Regions from separate parts of the Homo sapiens genome. Here regions 1 and 3 are each linked to region 2. Evidence: promoter capture Hi-C in human tissues and cell types (Jung and others, 2019). All regions are on one chromosome and are shown on one strand. The core of a region is centred on a gene start or on the middle of the fragment in contact, and the rest is flanking DNA. Distances in the headings are between cores, read along the strand shown.

Evidence for each region. The method cuts DNA at HindIII sites, captures the fragments that hold promoters and counts their contacts. A contact is called where the count stands out against the background at its distance.
Region 1: a contact is called between a fragment that was not itself captured here and the fragment with the promoter of KCNS2 in region 2, in 1 of the 25 tissues and cell types used here (H1 embryonic stem cells).
Region 3: a contact is called between a fragment that was not itself captured here and the fragment with the promoter of KCNS2 in region 2, in 2 of the 25 tissues and cell types used here (H1 embryonic stem cells and stomach).

The regions. Positions count from the first base shown.
Region 1 is chr8:98,467,483-98,470,787 of GRCh38, reverse strand. All of the region lies in intron 10 of STK3 (serine/threonine kinase 3), which reads left to right. Among named protein-coding and RNA genes, the nearest start is that of KCNS2, 42 kb to the right of the region's middle. The HindIII fragment of the contact is 7,225 bases long and covers 1-3,305 here.
Region 2 is chr8:98,425,046-98,428,586 of GRCh38, reverse strand. KCNS2 (potassium voltage-gated channel modifier subfamily S member 2) reads right to left here and starts at 1,629. Exons shown (of 2, transcript NM_020697.4): 1 at 1,258-1,629; 2 at 1-649. The coding sequence starts at 607. It also overlaps a transcript of STK3 not described here. RefSeq lists a silencer at 1,530-1,729. The HindIII fragment of the contact is 18,533 bases long and covers 1-3,541 here.
Region 3 is chr8:98,370,579-98,373,892 of GRCh38, reverse strand. It overlaps a transcript of STK3 not described here. Among named protein-coding and RNA genes, the nearest start is that of MIR9903, 22 kb to the left of the region's middle. The HindIII fragment of the contact is 4,822 bases long and covers 1-3,314 here.

The sequences.
Region 1 (3,305 bases), core at 154-2,653, 42 kb before region 2:
TATACTTAGAGCAGAGATTTACCAAGGGTTGGGGAAGCTTATGCTGTCACCCTAGCAAAATTGTCTAGGAAAAATGTCATCTTTAAAATTAGTTGATATAATTAAGGATGACACTCACTAAAGACCAATGAAAGACAGTTTCTGGTCATTGAAAAATTAAAAAATAGCTAGCAGAATCTGCAATTTCCTCAGTATTTAAGAGTTATCTCTCCCTTCTTTTGACAGCTTGGTCCAGCACAGCTGACTATTCTGACTATAGAAACAACTGTGAGAGTGAGGGTGGCCTACTTAAAAGGCCTTGTACTGAGTACGGGTGAGATGAGGCAGTGAACACCCCTGTGAAAAGAAAATGATTAAGACTATGACTGTCTCTCACAACTGGGGTAATTAGAAGAGATCTGTGGGTTGGCGGTGGCAGGGCTAGGGTGGACCTGACAGAGTCACAAGATCATGCACTGTGGTTAAGAGAACTGTAGCAGGAGGAGGTTCATTCAAATGGGCATTCCTAACTGAAAATAGGCTAGAAGAACTTAGGTAAATCATGGGTATCCAGAAATGGGCAGTGTTGTGTGGACCAGCTTGCAGTGTTTTTGGCAGTTTGAAGGTAATTTCTTTGCATGTGGTATTTTTCAAAATTAGTTGATCATTTCTGGTATTGCACCGCTACTCTGACTCTAATAATGGAAAGTTCACTCACGGTGTTCTTGTCTAAGAATGCTTTGGAGAATTCTAGGATCTGTTAGTACCAGGTACTAGCAGCTCAGCACTAGGTCTGCTGGGTCATTTATTTCAGATTGAGAGTTACATATATTGTATGTGAATATAAACCAGTTTCAGAATAATTATCCAGTGGATAAGCTCTTCCTTGAATAACAGTGTATGTCAGTCAGTTACTAATATTTTTTGGAAAGTTCCTCAAGAGCACATTGAATTCAGCAGCCACATAGCTGTGTTATTACTTTTTCCACAGGAGGTAAACCAACAATATGTCTTTCATATGGTCAATAATTAAAGATGCATTTTTCCTTTTATCCTTATTAAAATGGACTTTTTAAGACTGAACTGAAATTTCATCTTGTAAAATAAAAATGTGAAGATTTACTAGCAAAACTACTCCATATTAATGTATATTATTCAAACCAGAGCTGAAATTCTGATCCCCAAATTTCCACTCATGACCACAGTCTCCCGGCTTCCCAGTAGATGTAAAGTAAGATCAGCCATTCTTTGTGCTGTCCCCCAACCTCAGTTCTCTGCCTCTGCTTCCATGTCCACATTAGTAGTGAGGCCACTCAGAAGGCAGGTGTCTGGCTCAAGGGAGGATAAAACCAAAGCCTTGCTGCCTTTGCAAGAGGTGCAGCTTGGTCCAGCCCCAGCGCTGAAGACTTGCAGGAACATTTGGGAACACACTCATTTTGCAAGGTATTATTAGAGATAAAATTTTGATGCCATGTTCTCTATTAAATTAGTTGATACCGAAAAACAGTTTCTAAAAATCTAATTTGGCGCCATTCTCAGACCGCCCCCCCGCCCCCGCAAAGAAAAGCCTTTTTGGACCATTCGTGTATTATAATCATCTAAGTGTGAAAATTTTAGTTTGTAATCAATGTTTACTCAGCCTTTTGGAAGTAATGGTGGCATATTACTTTCTCATCTTTCTTTTCTTTCTTTTTTTTTTTAAAGATGGAGTCTCACTCTGTCACCAGGCTGAAGTGCAGTGGCACGATCCTAGCTCACTGCAACCCCCGCCTCCCAGGTTCAAGCGATTCTGCTGCCTCAGCCTCCCGAGTAGCTGGGACTACAGGCACCCGCCACCTCGCCCAGCTAATTTTTGTATTTTTAGTAGAGACAGGGTTTCACCATGTTGTCCAGGATGGTCTCGATCTCTTGACCTCGTGATCCGCCTGCCTCAGCCTCCCAAAGTGCTGGGATTACAGGCGTTAGCCACCATGCCCGGCTCTCATCTTTATTTTCTGTGATTTCTGCATATTAGTTGCGCAGTCTAAAATGCTGACATAACCCACAAACACTGTTGTCCTTTCCCCAATTCAGAAAGTTGAAGATTTGAAACATTTACATTTGAAAGTTGATTCTTCCCCCATGAGACACATCTAAGTTAATAACTAGCAGGACTTATGTTCATTTATTCTCATTCTCTACCTTCTTTTACCTTAAATTCATAGCATTTGTGAGCATATTTTAAAACAAATATTAATGAAAAAACAATAGAATCTCAGTTTCATTCAGGCGACGATTTTGCTTTTAAGTTTGCACAAGACAGCTTATTTATTATTAAGGTAGACAAAATCAATTTTGCTTTTTAAACATTTTCATAAGAGCCTCCTATCCTTTTTTCTTGTGTCCTTACAAATATCTGAATCTCTTCATGGGTGTTTTAGTTTAATTTGTACATTTGTCTGTCAGTAGCTGGGAAAATTAAATATTGTTTCAGCCACAAACCATGCCATTCTAAAATTGAGAATGCTAAAATGTTTCCTTTTTGGTACATTTTATCTTCTAAGGCCCATGTGGCAAGTGAGAATGCAGAACTATGATCGAATTTATTTTTTCTTTTGAAGTGTTTTAGAAACATTTTGGCATATTTTGAGTTTTATTGTTTTAAAAATAGTTAACAGACCACGATTCTTATTCTGAACTGTTTTAAATGAACTGTGGATTTAGATGCTTCGAAACTAAAATATGAGACTCTTGTTTATTTCTAGATGTTGCTTCACTATTAAAAATTATCTATTACAATCTAAATTGCATGATTTGTGGGTTTTAGCTAACCTCTTTCATTTTAAAACTACTTTATAGATTTTCAAGAAACAAATATTTACATTTTTATGATATGAAGATAGTATAATTTAAATTGTTAGACTAAGTATTGTGATGTCAGTGAAGCAGAAAATTGTGACATTAGTAAGAATGATGCTCTTCCAGCACACTTCACTCCATGCATGTTTCCTCAAAGAGTCAACTATGGTATTTATTATTGTTTTGGAGAATTTTTTGAGAGAAGCCATTATTCTAAGAAAAGGATGAGCCCCTTATTATTGAAATAAATGTATCATCAGACATGCAGAATAAACATGTAGTGGAGCATGAAACTATCCTGTAGTAATATTAATTAAACATGCTGAAAAAATACCCTCATCTTCACAGATACTCTTTTTGCTTTACTTCAACTGCAAATTTACCAACTTGATGCCACACACACACACACACACACACACACATTTTTTAAATAGAGTTAATAGATGTGTACTATGACATCAAAAGGGACTTTCTGTTACCACAAAATT
Region 2 (3,541 bases), core at 380-2,879:
TGATGATGGACCCCATCACCACCAGGATGGACAGGATGCTGAAGACCCTGCTCAGCACTGAGTAGCCGGGGTTGTCCAGCGCCAGCCACAGCTGCCTGCGGAAGTTGCCGAGGGGCTGCCCATCGAACTTGGAGGCGTCGTTGTAGAAGGCAAGGATCTCATCGAAGGAAGACGTGGTGCTCTCCTGGTCACTCTGCTCGTCCCACTTCTCCTGCTCGGGCTCTACTTTGCGGCCATGGTAGCTGTAGCTGCAGCAGGAGTCAATGAAGAACTCGTTGATGCCCCAGTACTCGATCTCCTGGCTGAAGGAGAAGACACATAGCTCAGCCATGACGTGAAGCTTGCCGGTGTGATAGAAATGCAGCACGTAGGGGAAGAGCTCAGGGTTGCGGTCGAAGTAGAACTCCCGCTGGACGTCGTCGTAGTCATCGCAGAGCTCCAGAATGGCCTCGCGCGAGTGGCAGAGCAGCAAGCGGCCCAGGCGCGTCTCGGGGAAGCGCAGCAGCGTGTGCGAGCGCAGCCTCCTCTTGAAGCCGCCCACATTGATGCGGATCTCCCCGTCCTCGACGTTAGCCTCCGACACGTCCCACAGGCTCTGGCCGGTCATGCTGGAGGCGCCGGCCGCCCGCGCCGCGCGGGGGCGCTACACCTGGAAGCGGAGGGAACAGCGTCGGCGAGAGCGCCGTGCGCCCTGGCGGGGCCCCCTCTCCCTACCCATTACTGGCGGGCCCAGGCCTCCTGGTGGGTCTTGGGTGCTGAAGGGCTGGGCTGGGGCAAGAGTTTGAGGGGTCTGATCCCCTCCCAGGAAAGGCTGGGGGTGGGTATGTTTCTATTAGCACAGCTCCACCCCAGGGGTCTCGGTGGGCGCTTTGCGCGTGCGGGGTCGCGTCCCCGCGGCTCTGAGCGCCCAGGGGGCTGCATGCTGACCTTGTCCATGGGCAGGCCCGGGAGACGCCCCCGCCCGCTCGCCGCAGACAGGCGGGACCGGAGCTGAGATACGCACGGGCAGGGCCGGGCCGACACGGGGGGCGCGTAGCTTTGGTGGGGTGGGGGGGATGCGCTGGAGTCTGGAAACCCGGGCCGCGGGAATGAGGGGGGCGGCCCGGCCTCCCCTGGGTCCAGATCCCACGCCTGCAGCCCCCGCGTCCCCGGCCCAGGTCTCCCTGCCGGCCTGGCGCTATGCCCCGGGGCCGCGTGCGCTGCGCCTCACCCAGCGGGGCTGCCCGGGCTCGCCCTGCGCGTTCTGGAAGCGCTTACCTGGGAGCACGGGTGCCCGCGGCCGAGGCCGGCGGGAAACTTCCCCAACCCGCGGGCGAGCATCGCGGCGGTGGCCGCTGCCTGCTGGCGGTGCGTGCGCGGGTGCGAGTGTGTGCGCCCGGCGGGCCGGCGGGCGGGGGCCGCCGAGCGTCTCCTCCCGTCTCGGGCCGGGTACGCCGCCGCCGCCCGCAGCTGCCGAAGGCTCACAGGTGGCTGCGTGGTCCCGCCGCTCCCGGAGCCCCCTCTCCGGATCCGCGCGCCCCTCACCCACCCAGAGAGGCAGGAACCCGCGCCGCATTCGCCCCGTGAGCCGGGGCGGGAGCAGAGCGGGTGTGACGGGGCGCCCGCCCTGCGCGGGGCGCGGCGCGGTGGTGCTGAACGGACAGCTCCGCGTGCCTCGGCCGCCGCCCGGGCTCGGAAGGCGCAGCCGCCGCCGCCGCTGCTTCTCTGCGCTTCCCCGGCGCGTCACCGCGACCACCTTGCGCCCCCGGCTCGGCGCGGGGCCGACACCTCTCCCTTCCCCCCGACCATCCCCCGGTGACAGCTGTTATTATCACCACCCCCAGGGCGCAGGCAGGGGGCTGCCTACGGTGACCTTTCCCCGCTGGGTCTGGCGGGAGCTGGGCTGGGAAATAAAGGGCGGCTTGCGCGTGTCCGGGGACAGGGCGGGACCGGAGGAACTCCAGGTGTCCCCTTTTAGGGACCTGAAGAAAAGTTTCCCGAAGCCCGGGGGTGGGGTTGTTGGGGAACAGGAGCTGGAGGGGAAAAGAGGGGGCCGGGAAGTCCAAGGTGGAGATCGGCTTAGTACGCGGGGGGCGGGAGCGCAGGCCGCACGGCGGGGGCGGGAGTCGCTGAGTTCTGGTCGGGAGCTCTGTGTGGGCACAGTTTGTGTCCAGGCCGGTGTGGTGTGCTGGCTGTGCGGGACTGCAGGGCGCTGTGTGTGTATGTAGGCTGAGGACAGCAGGACTTTTCAGTGTCTGTGTGTACCGCGTTCATTAAAATGGGTCCTCTGTCGGATGGGAAGATGCGTCGGCACAGGGGGGACCTGGGACGTGTGTCAGCGCAGTGTGTGGCATGGGGAACCGTGTGCTGTGTGTACATGTGCTGTGTACAGTGTAGTACTCTTGGGACTGTGACGGGCTCATGTGTGTGGAATATGTTGAGAGCGGTGTGCTTGCCGACAGTGGGGACTGGGGGGTTCAAGCTGGAGTGGGGACTGGTAGATGTGCTCAGGATCTGTGTCCCTATTCCTAAGAAGACTCGTGGCCCAGATCTGAGCTCTTGGTCTGCTGGGATTGTCCTTAAGGCCCTGCCTACTGGGCTGAGCTGAGAAATGGACCCAGTCCCTGGGGAGCCCCCTCCCTTTGGTGTTTCTCTGTGGTGTCCACTTGCAAAGACTGGAGCACCGTGGTTGTGTGAGCTTAGCAGGGAGCTAGCGTCTACATGTCTCGGTCAGAAGTCCTGGGAATGCCCTTGCAGGGTGGCTCTGGATTCATGGTGCAACCACCACTGCCACAGTGGGAAGTACATTCTTTCTTTACGCAATCCTGGCAATGCCGTCCCAGCTGAAAAGGTGCTCTGTGTAGCTCTGGAGGGCTTGGGGCCTCCTTGGAGGACCTGTAGAGGACCGTTAATCTGGCTTCGAATGGGGGCTCCTGCATCCAAGTCTGACCCATCCCTGTGACCCACTGGCTTCTGGACATGTGTGTGGGTGTGAATGCAGGTGTGTTTCCTGCTGAGAGGGCTTCACACCCATGCCCCTGCAGGCCTCTGCAAATGTGGTGGATTCCACAGAGGCAGCCACATGGGAGAGGGATAGTAGGGTAGTGAGGGCCACACACACTTCCTCTTTCTTGTGTATGACCTTTCCCCAGGCTTTGGGAAACTTTTCTTCAGGTCCCTAAAAGAGGAATCCAGTCCTCCATTCTGCCCTACCCTCAAACACACACAAGCCACCCTTTATTTCCCAGTGTGTTTGTGTGTGTGTGTGTGTGTGTGTGTCTGAGAGGGAGAGACGGAGAAAAATCTGATCTTGGTTATCCTTGTCTTCATCTCCCTTTCTTTCAGGGTCTGTGTGTGGACAGCAGCCTCTATCTAGGTCTGCTGGGTCCATCATTGGAGGTCTGTGGCTCCCACACACCTGGCTGCAGTCTGGGAGCCCCTGGATCTCCTTCATCCCCATGGGGGTGCTGTGGAGAGAGTGCCACCCTTGCTGAGGGGGTGTGTGCTTCAGTGCATTTATAATCCCTGTGTCAGTGCCTCTTTCACCCTTTTCCAATCCCCC
Region 3 (3,314 bases), core at 427-2,926, 55 kb after region 2:
CAAAATCTGAGATTAAATCCCATCTCTGCTACTTACTAGTTGTGTGACTTCGGCAAGCCACTTAGGTTTTCTGATCCTGTTTCCTCATCTATAAAACTCCTGTGTGGTCATAAGGATGACAGGATAAGTTATATAAGACATTCACAAAAAAAAGGAAAGAAAAGAAGCAGATATTACCTTTTGTGTCTTTGGGCAGAAGGAATTTCTACCACCTTCCTCCAGCGGTGAGGCAGCATGGTGAAGCGACATGGTCAGGCAAGCTGACTGCCTGGGTTCAGTCCTGGGTCCATTACAGTGTGACTTGGGGCAAGTTAATTATCTCTCTAGGCCTCAGTTTTTAATCTAAAAACTGGCATGAAAATAGTACCTGCCTTACACAGTTGTGATGATCCAGTAAGAACATTTAGCTCAATGCCCAGCACACACATGTTCAATAGACATTATCAGGAATGTAAGAGAATAAGCCAGACCATAAGTAAATGTCATGACTGATGACATTTCATTGGCCAAACCAAGTCATGTAGAAAGCACACTCTGCCCACGGTGGGAGGAAATGCACTTTACATGGAAAAGAATGTGGATCTAGAATCCTGTTACAGGAGGGTAGAGATTGGGGAAAAGATCCAATCATCTGGCTCGGACACAGAAGGAGATGTTAAGGGCACTGATATGGCTCAAAAACAGAAACTCATAAACAGCAATCACAAAAAAAGCAAGAATAATAACTGCCATTTATGGAGCACCAACTCTGGTGGGAGGGGCTGTTCTCAAATAATCACAATATAGGCTGGGCAGACCCAACGAATTTCCTTCCCCTCATCTGACTCTCTCTGTCTTTCCCCTCCTACAGTGCTTTAATTCATGGTGAAATTCCATTTCAGGGAAGTTAATTATAAAGAAGAAATAATAGCAACCATTATAACCAGAGTAAGACTGATAATATTTATCAGTTACTTCATGCACATTATCTCATTCAATTCTCATCATAACCTCAGGGCATGGTGTTATTTTTCTCACATTGTAAATGAGGACACCAGGCTTAGAGACCAAGCGCTTTCCCAAAGCCACGCAGCTGGAAGGGAGCAGCGCTAGACTGTGAATTGTTAGAGTTCACAACCCATGCTCTTCTCATTATCCTGCTCTGCCTCCTCCTGGTGCACAGCACAAAGTCTCCAGAGCCTCTGTTCCCCAGACTGAAGCGGAGCCAATGTTCTGGACCCTCTGCCTACAATGTGGAAGTGGATAAATAGTAGCGAGGATGTTGGTGCTTATGTTAACAGAAAGCTGTTTGTATTATCTCTCACGTCAGTGAAGGATGTTCAGAGCCAAGAGTTAAGGGGAAAAAAAAAAACAAAAAACCACTGGGTGTTCAGGTAGAAAAGCCTAGGAAAAATAACAACAAAAAACCCCACTGGGCAGAGCTGGGTTTGGAGCTGAAGTCTGCGTCGTCTCACAGGAGTGGGTGGAGGGGCCGGGGAGCTGTGGCGTCCTGGCTGTTGGAGTCTGCGGGCCTCCCCAGCTGATGGCTGAGGCATAAGGCTCTGGAACTTGGAGGCTGCCCTGAAGAGCCCTCTGCATTAGTTTCCCAGGGTTCCTTAACAAAGTACTGCAAACTGAGTGGCTTAAAGCAACAGAAATGGATTCTCCCACAGTTCTGGAGGCTAAAAGTCTGAAATGAAGGTGTCAGCAAGCCATGTTCCCTCTAAGACCCAGAGTCTGAGACTCTTTCCTTGCCTTTGCCTAGCTTCTGATGGCAGCTGGCAATCCTTCATATTCCATGCCTTGCAACTGCATTACTCCAACCTCTGCCTCTGTCTTCACATGGTGTTCTCCCTGTGTGGGTGTCTGTGTCCACATTTCCCTCATCTTAAAAGGGCACTAGTCATATTCGGTTTAAGGACCCCCCTCCCCCTGATCCCACTCAGTATGACTTTATCTTAACTTGATTAGATCTGCAAAGACCATATTTCCAAATAAGGTCACTTTCCACTGGTACTAGGGGTTCAGACTTCAACACGCAATTTGGGGAGAGACAATTCAAGCCATAACACCACCATGTCCTATGTCCTAGGACTTGGTATAGGGTAAAAGTACTGTCTCATGTGGCCCTAGAGCCCTCAATGCAACTGAGACGAAGGTTCCAGCAGTGGCCCTTAGACAAGTTAAAAAGCATAATCTTGAGGGGTCAGCCTCTAAAGTTCTGTTCTCCTGCAGGTGTGGGGACTATCCCTAGCTTTGTGACTGAAGACTTGCCAGGTCCTGGAAGCATCTGGGAAGTGTTTTGGTTGAGGAGAGTTGAATGTTTGAAGAAGAAAATATCAGAGTGACATTCCTGCTGCTGGCTCCCCTCTGATGTACCGCCCTTGTGCTTTCTCCTACTGCACTTGCGATCCAGCAGCCTACAAAGAACATGTGCTTTCGAATGAAAGCCCTGCTCCAGCACTCACTAGCTAGTTAACCTTAGGAGTATTATTTCAAAGCTCTTGGAGCCTCGGTTTTCCTCATCTGTTAAAATGGGACCATAAATACTTAACTCAGTGTTGTGAGAGTGAAATTATGTTATGTACAGGGAAGTACACATAGCAAGTATTTGATATGTGTTAATTTCTCTTTCTCGTCCTTACTGGATGGGATCAGAGGGATGGATAAACCAGTTACCACTTCACCAGTTCGGCAAATGTTTATTGAGCACCTACTACACAAGTGGCTTTAGGCTGGGCCCTGGGGATGCAATGAATAACAAGATCAAGTCTTGTCCTGCAGGCACAAACAACCATGTAACAATGTAGTAAGTTTTGTTTCTTTTCTGTCCTGGGTGCTCCTCTGGGACCTTCAACATCCTAGGAACATTTTGGGTCCAGTGGTCTGAGATCTTACCAGAGCTCCCAATCTCTTTCCTAAAATATAGTGTAAGTGTTAAGTGCCTACTCTAGGCAAAGTCTTTCACATATAATACCCCTACATTTTACAATATTTTGTATGGTCCTAGCATCTGCATTTTTCAGGTGAGGAAACTGAGACTCGGGTGTAAAGAAAACAACCAAAGATCATCCAGATGGGATTTAACCTGACTTGTTTGGATCCCAAGACCTCATCTCCTTGATACCATTTACAATTTCAAAACTGTGACTCTAAGTAGACAAGCTTACATTTTATCTGGCTCTGAACCTTATGCAAAGGGAAGCTGGTTCCAAGAACAAGAGAGGTAATGTCAGCATTCCTGGATGATGTGGGCCCCTGAGTCCAGCTCAGAAGGCTGGCACACATTTGTGCTGACACCCCACTGTGTCTTCTTGGTTTTAGTCCTACTCATC